Linked DNA regions of Homo sapiens: region 2 is linked to region 1. Evidence: promoter capture Hi-C in human tissues and cell types (Jung and others, 2019). All regions are on one chromosome and are shown on one strand. The core of a region is centred on a gene start or on the middle of the fragment in contact, and the rest is flanking DNA. Distances in the headings are between cores, read along the strand shown. Region 1 holds the start of JAM2 (junctional adhesion molecule 2). Region 2 has its middle 120 kb from the start of LINC00158.

Region 1 (4,982 bases), core at 1,458-3,957:
TCCTGTTCTCTAGAGCACTCATTCTAACAGTCTACTGGTCACCCCAGCTATATTTCTCTCTCTCAACTCATCCCAAACCTGCAGGAATTATGTATGCCCTCTATGTTTCTTATTCCTTTAATGACACTATTTATAACCTCCACATACAGCCACCTATGCTAGAAATCTGATACCTACATGTTCTCTCCTTTCTCACCCCTACATCTAGCTGATAACATAATCCTGTTGACCATGTTTGTGAAATATCATCTGAATCCACCCGGTTTTTCATTTATCACACGGTGACCATTTACTTCACAACTTGGTCTCTTTCTCAGGATATTGTAATAGTTTAGACTTGACTAACACCCTGATTCTCTTTTCTGTAATCCATCCTGCACATTTCAATATGAGTCATCATTCTAGAGCAGCACTCTCTTGTAGAACTTCCTGCAATGATGGAAATACATTTTCCAATATGGTAGCCCCTACCCTCATGTGACTATTGAGAAATTCATATGTGATCAGTGTCAGTGGAGAACTGCATTTTACATATAATTGAATTCAAATTTATATAGCCAGCCAGGCATGGTGGCTCACACCTGTAATTCCAGCACTTTGGGAGGCCAAGGCGTGTGGATCATCTGAGGTCAGAAGTTCGAGACCAGCCTGGCAAACATGGCGAAACCCCATCTCTACAAAAAATACAAAAATTAGCCTGCATGGTGGCACATGCCTGTAGTCCCATCTACTGGACTGAGGAGGCTGAGGCAGGAGAATCACTTGAACCTGGGAGGCGGAGGTTGCAGTGAGCTGAGATTGCACCACTGTACTCCAGCCTGTGTGACAAAGTGAGACTCTGTCTCAAATTAAAAACAAAACAAAAAAAATGTATATAGCCACTTAGATCTATAGGCTACCATATTGGACACCACAGTTCTAAAATATGAGTCTTTTCTTATCTCATTGCTTTCAAAAAGCTCATTAGCTGTAGGATGAGGTCTAGACAGTAGCGTGAATGCTCTTCGTACTCTAACCTCCCCTTCAGTTTCTACCACCACCACCACCTACCTCACTATCCCGATCCCACATACACTTTAGTACTGTAGAACCTTGCTTTTTCTAAATAAACCATAATTTTTCAATCTCCTAGCTCTGGATCCTGCTGTTTCCTCTATGTAGAATGCCTCTCCTTTATGTCCTTCCCTTCAGAATTTGACCCATTTTTCAAGGTTTAATAAAGAAAGCCCTGGCCCCACTCCCAACAAAAGGAACAGCCCCTTATCATGGACCTTGGACAAGCCATTTAGTGTCTCTCCGCCCAGTTTTCTCATCTGCAAAGTGGGAATGATAACATTTCCTCTTTTATGGAGTTGTTGGGGGATTAGATATTGCGTTATTCAGACTCCATCACTGAGAAAGCATGCAATAAAAATAGCTGTTATTATTTTCTGTCCTCCTGTAACATTTACCATGTGGTATCAGGCATCTTTCCTGATAAGACTCTGTCTCCCCTCAAGACTGTGAGCTTGTTAGCAAGAAAGCCTCTATCTTGTTCATGGTTGTCCTTCAGCATCCAGCACATTGTTGCCATTTGTCAAATGCCTTGGCTGGGTGGCAAATAAATAACTTAGTCAGTTACTCACATAGGATTGCATAGAATTTTTTTAAGTATGACATTTTTGTGTATATTTTTAGGGAGGAGTAAAAGACATATAGCTGTAGCAAGAATTAGAAAAAAGAAGATGCCAACAACTTTTCTTTTTAAGCATCAAATCCTTCTCATTACTGCCCAGAAAAACTGGCATAAGCTGTTGTTAAATCTGTGCCCCTTCTCCTCGGTTGACTGGAGTACGAGTTTTAACATTTTGCCATTTTGACTTTCCTTTCTGGGTCCCCTGGGTCCTCTCCTCCCACCCCCTCCCTGGGTACTAAGTTTTCATCACTGTCACCACGGCAACAGCAAGGATGCCTCATTCCTCACAGTTCTGCACAGCTAAACTCTGGTCGCCTTTGTCCACTGAGCTAGCTGAATTCTTTTTAAATACACCACTAAATCAACTATCTGCTGTACAGAACTTCATCCATTATTCAACCTTTAAAAAAAAACAAAAACAAAAACAAACAAAAAAACAAAAGAAAAAAACTGATGTATACTAATTTCTTCTCCTGGGAATGGCCTTTTTCCAGACCTGCCAATACTCTTGAATACACCATACATTTTTGGTCCCTAGGAACAAATATAAAAATTGCCAGTGTACGTGCGTCCAATGTAAGTGTGGTGCAATTTTAAAGCACGCAACAGAGCATTCATAATGGGTTTCCCTTTTAAAAGCACAGTAGACCAAAAATAAACCTGACAAAGGGCAGCTGTAGAGTTTTAACACGTGGAAAACTCCACAAGCAGCAGTTATGTAACTTGAAAGAAACATGATAAATATTTCACACCATTAGATGAACTTCCAACTCTGACACTGAAAAAAAAGCAAAGAACAAGAACGCGAGACAAATGCACCTCAAATCTCCAAGGAGCAAAAAGCTTAAACTGAGAAGGGACCAAGGCTGTACTAAAATCTGAGACCTGACTTCCAGCACGAGTCTTGATTGCTTTTTTTTTTCTCGAGTTCGAGGCGGAGCCCGCGAACCCCATCTCCTCAGAGCGCCACCCCCTCAGCTTCGCCCGTTGGGCAGAATTTTCCAAATATCTCCACCCCTAGGCTGAAAAGCCAGAAAGAAGTTTTGAGCCAACGAGGGGAAGAAAGGAGTTGGGGCAAAACAGGAGGCGTTTCCCTACCCGCATACATCCCCGTCCCCGAGACACCCAATCCCCCCACCCCCAGCCTGCCCGCGCCTCCCGCCCCCAGCTCCTCGCCCTGGGGACAGCTGGCAGCCCCGCGCGGACCAGACACAAAGCCGATCAATCCCGGAGGCGTGGGGGCGGAGGGACGACCCGCCGGGGCTTTCCCGGGCGCTGCTCTCCTCCTGCTGCCCCCTCGCTAGGACCCGGCGGACGCCTCGTCTGGTTTTCACGCCCTCTAGCCCCTACCCCCACACCCCCAAAACAGAACAGACCCCCATCCCTGGGCTGGAGGACCCGCCTCTTGGCAGCCAGCTGAGAAGGCGCCCCGGGGAGGGGGAAACTGACATCCCATCTAGAGCCGTCCCTCCTCTTCCTCCCCTCCCGACTCTCTGCTCCTTTCCCGCCCCAGAAGTTCAAGGGCCCCCGGCCTCCTGCGCTCCTGCCGCCGGGACCCTCGACCTCCTCAGAGCAGCCGGCTGCCGCCCCGGGAAGATGGCGAGGAGGAGCCGCCACCGCCTCCTCCTGCTGCTGCTGCGCTACCTGGTGGTCGCCCTGGGCTGTAAGTTGCTCGGGTTCCTCTACCCTTCCTGCCTGGACCAGCCTGCCCCCACCCTCCAGCCCCCCACGGGGCGCTGGCTGACAGTGTCTGGGCGGCTCTGGGCCGAGGTCGCCGCGGGGCGTCTGACCTTGCGCCCAGGCGAGCGGGAAACCCAGGGTGCCCGCGAGCGGACGCTGGGAGCAAGGGAGCGCGAGGTCGTGGGTTTCTTGTGAATTGCGTCTGATTTTGTCAGTTCTAGATACAGAAAATTAAGGGTTCCCACTAGCAGGTTCTCATCTGTTTGCAAAGTTGGGGTAAGTTTTCAGACAGAGGGACGTGATTCGAATGCAAAACTCACTACCCACTGGTAAGATGCTAAGACCCCAAGAAAGATGGCATCACTGGGAGGCGGGCGCCGGCCACACTTTGAGTCCCCGGGGAGGGGGCAGCGTCCGCGTGGTCTGGGCTCTGTAGCGTCCCAGCTGAGCCGGCGATATGCAGCGCACTTGTGGGGCGGAGGTGGAGGGAATTCGTGGCTGCTGAGCCAGAATTACTTTTATCCTCTCCACCTGCACATCTACATTCACTTAGAGAAGTCTGGTCTGGGGACTCTAGCCAGCTGCTCTGTCCTCAGGGGACATCCAACGGGACGATTGTTAGAAAGATTCAGAAGCCACATGATCCAGTAGCTGGGGAGACGTCCCAAAGCCAATTTCACCGGATGATTTTAAACAGGATTTTCACGGATTCTGGACTCATGAGATTTGAAATCCTGGGAACGTTGCCGTTATTTTGTTTTCTTCGCGTTAACTTTTTAGGAAAATGGAGGAAATTACAATAGACTAAGCAATGCAGTTCTACTTTTGCTTTTTCTTTTTTCTCTCACCTTTTTTGTTTTGCTTTTTTCCCTTCCTTCCTTCCTCCCTTCCTTTCTCTTTCTTCTTTCTTTCTCTCTCTCTTTCTTTCTGTCTCTCTTTCTTTCTTTTGTAAAATGAGTTATTGTTGCTATTCACGTTCTGGTAAAGTAACACTTATAATACTTAACCTGCGGGACGAGTGTCTAATACCACAATACAATGATATTTTCTCACGCCCTCGCTGCCCAAGTGATCATCGCACAGCTCAAGTGATGTGAGCCACGTCCCTTTGTGGAGGAGGAAGGTGCACATTGTCTCAGGCAAGGGACATGTACTGACCAATATTATATAAAGTCAAACCAGAAAGCCAAAGTTTCACAATGAAACCCTTGTGCAATTCTGAAATATCAATTGGTATCATATGGAACACACAGAAGAAAAAAAATGCACTCATGCTAAAAGGCAACAGAGAGGTAGGCTGGAGAAATCGTTAACAGAACAACTGAGAAAGTTATGTATTCTGCTGAAATTCTAAATTTCAAATAGAAAAGAGTGTGCCTTTTAGTGTAGAATTGTCACTAATTAAAAACAGAAAATCGTTCTGCTGTGCTATTCCTATTGAATCACCAACATAGAAACAATACACCCCAAGTCTGAAATTGTAGTGGAGAAACAACCAAGAGGCGAACAAAAGCATAAATGAATGGGGCTGAGTGACCTCTTCAAGCTTTAGGTAAATATAACACATTGTCTCTGCTAAACTTGATTCCTATAGGGGATGTATTTGGAAGTGTTGTGGGGACTTTTC
Region 2 (5,114 bases), core at 107-2,606, 330 kb before region 1:
TTCAAAAGTCTTCTATCAGATTAATTCCAAACAGGAATACACAAACATATATTATAATCAAACTGTCAAATATCAAAGACAAGGAGAGGAACCTGAATACAGTAAGAGAAAAAAAGCAAATGACATATAAGGAGTTCCAATAAGGCCAGTGATATATATATATGTGTGTATATATATATATATATATAGCTGAAGGAAGAAAAACGCCAACCAACACCAACTGTAAGGCACCTGGCAAAGCTGTTCTTGAGAAATGCAGTGACACACATTTTCCCAAATGAACAAAAACAAAGAGTTCATCACCACCAGACCTGTCTTATAAGAAATACTAAAGAGATTTCTTCAGGCTGAAAGGAAAGGACACTTAGAAACATGAAAATATATTAAAGTATAAAAATCACTACTAAAAATAAGTACATGGTCAAATTAAGAATATTCAAATACTGTGATGGTAGGGTATAAATTACATGTCTTTATTGTGAAGGTCAAAAGACAAAACTATTTAAAATAAAAATAACTACAATAATTTGTTAAGGAATACACAATGCAAAAAGAGGTAAATTTTGAATCAAAACATTTAATGCAGGGAGATTGAGTAAAAATGTAATATTATTTTATACAATCAACATTCAGATGTTAAGATTATCAGCTTAAAATAGCCTGTTATAACTATGTTTTATGTAAGTTTCATGATAACCACAAATGAAATATTAAAGGCCGTATTTGGCAAACTCACAGCTAACATCATACTCAATGGTGAAAAGCTAAACGTTTTTTCTTTAAGATTGGGAACAAGGCAAGAATGCCCACTTATCATTTCTATTCAACATAGTACTGGAAGTCCTAGCCAGAGCAATTAGACAAGTGACAGAAATAAAGGGCATCCAAATTGGAAAGGGAGAAGTTAAATTGTCCCTGTTCGCAAATGACCATAATCTTATATGTGGAAAGCCCTAAAGATTGCACCAAATAACTGTGAGAACTAAAATATGCATTCAATAAAGTTGCAGGATACAAAATCAACTTACAAAAATCAGTAGTGTTTCTATATATTCACAATGAACTATCCAAAAACAAGAAAACAAACTCATTTACAATAGATAGGAAGAAATAAAAAATAAAATACTCAGGAATAAATTTAAAGAGGTGAAAGACCTCTGAAGGAAAACTATGAAACTATTAAATTATAAACTAATAAACTATAAAACTAAAAACTGTTGATGAAAGAAATTGAAGAAGATGCAAATAAATGGAAAAATATTGCATATTTACAGATTGGAATAATTAATATTGTTAAATGTTCATACTACTCAAAACAATCTACAGATTTAACACAATTCCTATCAAAATTCCAATGACATTTTTCACAGAAGTACAAAAAAACTTCTAAAATTCATATGTAACCAGAAATGACCCAGAATACCCAAAGCAATCTTAAGCAAAAAGAACAAAGTTTAATGCATCACACTGCCTGATTTCAAAATATACTACAAAGCCATATTTATCAAAACAACAGGGTACTGGTATAAAAACAGAAACATCTGTTAATAAAACAGAATGGAGAGCCTGGAAATATGTCCTTACATTTATAGTCAACTGATTTTTGACAAAGTTACCAAGAACACACAATAAGTAAAGAATAGCTTCTCTTCAGTAATTGGTGCTGGGAAAACTGGTTATCTATACGTAGAAGGATGAAATTAGATCCTTATGCAAAAATCAACTCAACATATTTTTAAAAATCTACTCAAAATGGATTAAAGACTTAAAACTGGAAACTATAAAACTACTAGAAGAAACCATAGAGGAAAAGCTCCATGACTTTGGTCTGAGTGCTGATATTTTTTTAATACATCCCCTTTTAAAAGCACAGGCAACAAAAGTGAAAATAGACAAATGGGAAAATATCAAACTAAAAACTTATACAGCTAAGGAAATAAACAACAGAGTGAAGAGACAACCTATGGAATGGGAGAAAATAACTGCAAACTGTGTATCTGATAATTACATCCAATGTATATAAGGAACTCAAACAACTCAATAGCGAGAAAACAATCTGATTTTAAAATGGGCAAAGAACCTGAATAGACATTTTTCAAAAGAGAGCATGCAAATGGCCAACAGATAGATGAAAAAGTGTTCAACATCACTATTCATCAGAGAAATGCAAATCAAAATCACAGTGAAATATCGCGTCAACCTACTTAGAATGGCTATTATCAAAAAGATGAAAGACAAGTGTTGACAAAGATGTGGAGAAACAGAAATCACTGCACACTGTTGGTGAGACTGTAAATAAATAGAGCTATTACAGAAAACAATACAAAGCTCCTCAAAAACTTAAAAATAGAACCACCATATGATTCAGCAACCCCGCTACTGAATGTATATCCAAAAGAAGTGAAGTTAGTATGCCAAAGAGATATCTGCACTCCCATGTTTATTTCAGTGCTGTTCACAATAGCCCAAATACAGAATCAACATAAGGGTCCAATAAATAGATAAAGAATATATGGTATATATACATAATGAAATACTCTTTAGTTGTTTTTAAAAAAAGGAAATCCTGTCATTTGCAATAACATGGATAAACCTAAAGGATATTATGTTAAGTGAAATAAGCCAGGCACAGAAAGACAAATACGGCATGATCTCACTTATGTAGAATCTAAAAAAGTTGAACTCATAGAAGCAGAGGTTAGGGGATCATATTGGCCAAAGGATACAAAATGTCAGTTAGGTAAGAAGAATAAGTTCAAGATCTATTGAACAACACGGTGACTATAGTTAATAATGTATTGTATTCTTGAAAAGCACAAAGAGAGTGGATTTTAAGTGTTCTCAACAAAAAACATATGTGAGGTAATACATATGTTATTAGCTCAATTTAGCCATTCCACAGTGTATACATATTTCAAAACATCATTCTGTACAAAAGTATTTTTATTTGTCCATTTTAAAAATAAATAAAATATGTAAGAGGAAAAAAAAGAAAGAAAGCATGGCGAAGACTGGACTACAGTCAGGAAACCTATAATTTTGTTCAGCTACCTGTTGACTAGCTCAGGTTATAAGCTTTCTGAGTGATCTTTCTATACCTACAGTTTTCACTTGTAAGAAGTCACAGGATTGGCTGAGATTACTGACAAAGCCCCTCACAGGTCTAAAGTTTTGTGATCTAAAGTTGTTTACCAGGAATCTACAAATTGCCTAAAGCCATGGTCTGTATAAACTAAAGCAAAGCCTACATTTTTAAGTTATATTTTTATAACAGTAGTTTATAAATATAAATAAGAGTACAGGCAAAAATACATGGCTATATCCAATATTCTATTCAAGATCCCTGCAGCAATTTGTTTTATAAAAAATTACATCTTCACAAAAATATCTTCAAAGATATTCCACTGAGAGTTCATACTTTTTCTCACCCTTTAAATGTACTAGAATCAGCAAAGACATATGAAAATCGATCAGTATTCTTTTCATCCTCTCCTAGTTTATATATTTTGATTTTTTTTCTTACTTGTTGATGTCCTGTGTGAACATCAGCATTATTACCTTAACTTATCCTTGGACTTCCATGGAATTAATGAACTGTTGCAATAGCCAATCATAATTTGTGTTTATGGTTTAGCATTCTGTCTGGCTTATAATTATTTTTAGTACAGATCTGCTAGTTCAGTAAATGCTTTCATTATTCTTAGAGCTGAAGAAGCTTTTGGTTATGCAGAGCTTGTCTTGTCCCTGCACCTTACTTCTTGGCCACCGCTTGTAGTAAACATCGTTTTTGCTCCATTTTAATAGAGCTGCCTGCAGAAGGTCATTTATTAGGTAATCACTTGTCTGTGAAAAATTCTAATTACTCTATGTTTGTCAAAGGGAGGAAAATAGCATTGGATGTGAATGCTGAATGAGAAGCAAACCAGAATGCAGATAAGGGAATCAGAAGTTTTTTAAATTGGTAGATAAAAAGATGTGTTAAGTGCACCTACATTTTGAGGGTTAAAAAGAAAAGATACACTATCAGCTATAATAAAGATAAAAAAGCATAGAGTTTATGGTGTTATCAATTTGGAGTTAAAGCAAAAGAAAAATCGTTTATGAAGGGTACAGGGATGTTTTTCCTGTGGAATCTTAGTGCCCCCTGCTGATCCTCAAAAAATGTTTTACATTTACATTGGTTTCTGATTTCTTCCCACATGGGTATTTTCCTATTACGATACTTCCTTTTCAGGAAATATTTTTCCTATGTGACTCGCTATCTCAGTAATACTATCACACATTAGTATCTGTAGCTCCTCATAGAAAAAAAAAGTGATTCATCAAAAATGCATATCCATAAACTTTAAAAGAGTGCAAAGAGTTTGAAATTACTACTTGTATTATAACTGAAATGGTTGAACTTTTAATTAAAAAGAAAGAAATCATCACCACAAAGAAAGAAAATAAAAGCGAAAATACATGGTGACATTATCAATGACCCAGACTGGAGTACTGTTTCTGAGTTGGATGCTTGTTGAATCAGTTCCTTGTTTATGACTTGCTTCAGTTTATAACTAGACACAGACACATCAGACATCAAGACACAACACATTGCCAAAGACCACCCATTAGTAATATCAATTTTTTCACATTTTAGTCTCCTCTCATACACTATCTGTGAGAGAAATACTATTATTCTCATCTGAGGAGTGGGAAAAATGAGACTCATAAAACTTATATAATTATCGAAAGGTTGTGAACCATTGATGGCAGATCATCATCTTAGATTATTTTTAGAACACAAGGGAATATAAAAGCATTTTCCATGCCCACTCCTCACTCCACTCCAGATTATTTCAGAGCAAATCACAGACATTTATAAATATTTCAGTATGTGTCTCTAAATATAAGGTCTCTTTTAAAAAGCATTTTCAAAAATCTAGCAAAACCGAGATATTTAGCTATGATTTCAATGTCCACACTCTCTTCATCAATTAACCATTTCTTTTATTTTCTGATGCTTTGATATCTGCTTGCCTTGCTGACCCTACAAGGACGACTCCTTCCTTCCAGGATTAGCCAATTCCTGGAGATGGTAAACAACTCATCTTTCAAAAGTGAGCACAATTTTT

Evidence for each region. Contacts are between HindIII fragments. The study calls those that stand out against the background at their distance.
Region 2: a fragment that was not itself captured here is called in contact with the fragment with the promoter of JAM2 in region 1 in 2 of the 25 tissues and cell types used here (dorsolateral prefrontal cortex and lymphoblastoid cells).

The regions. Positions count from the first base shown.
Region 1 is chr21:25,636,551-25,641,532 of GRCh38, forward strand. JAM2 (junctional adhesion molecule 2) reads left to right here and starts at 2,708. Exons shown (of 10, transcript NM_021219.4): 1 at 2,708-3,338. The coding sequence starts at 3,272. RefSeq lists enhancers at 2,341-2,480, 3,218-3,718, 3,621-3,690 and a silencer at 2,701-2,890. The HindIII fragment of the contact is 5,846 bases long and covers 1-3,709 here.
Region 2 is chr21:25,309,932-25,315,045 of GRCh38, forward strand. No RefSeq gene overlaps it. Among named protein-coding and RNA genes, the nearest start is that of LINC00158, 120 kb to the right of the region's middle. The HindIII fragment of the contact is 4,077 bases long and covers 1-3,395 here.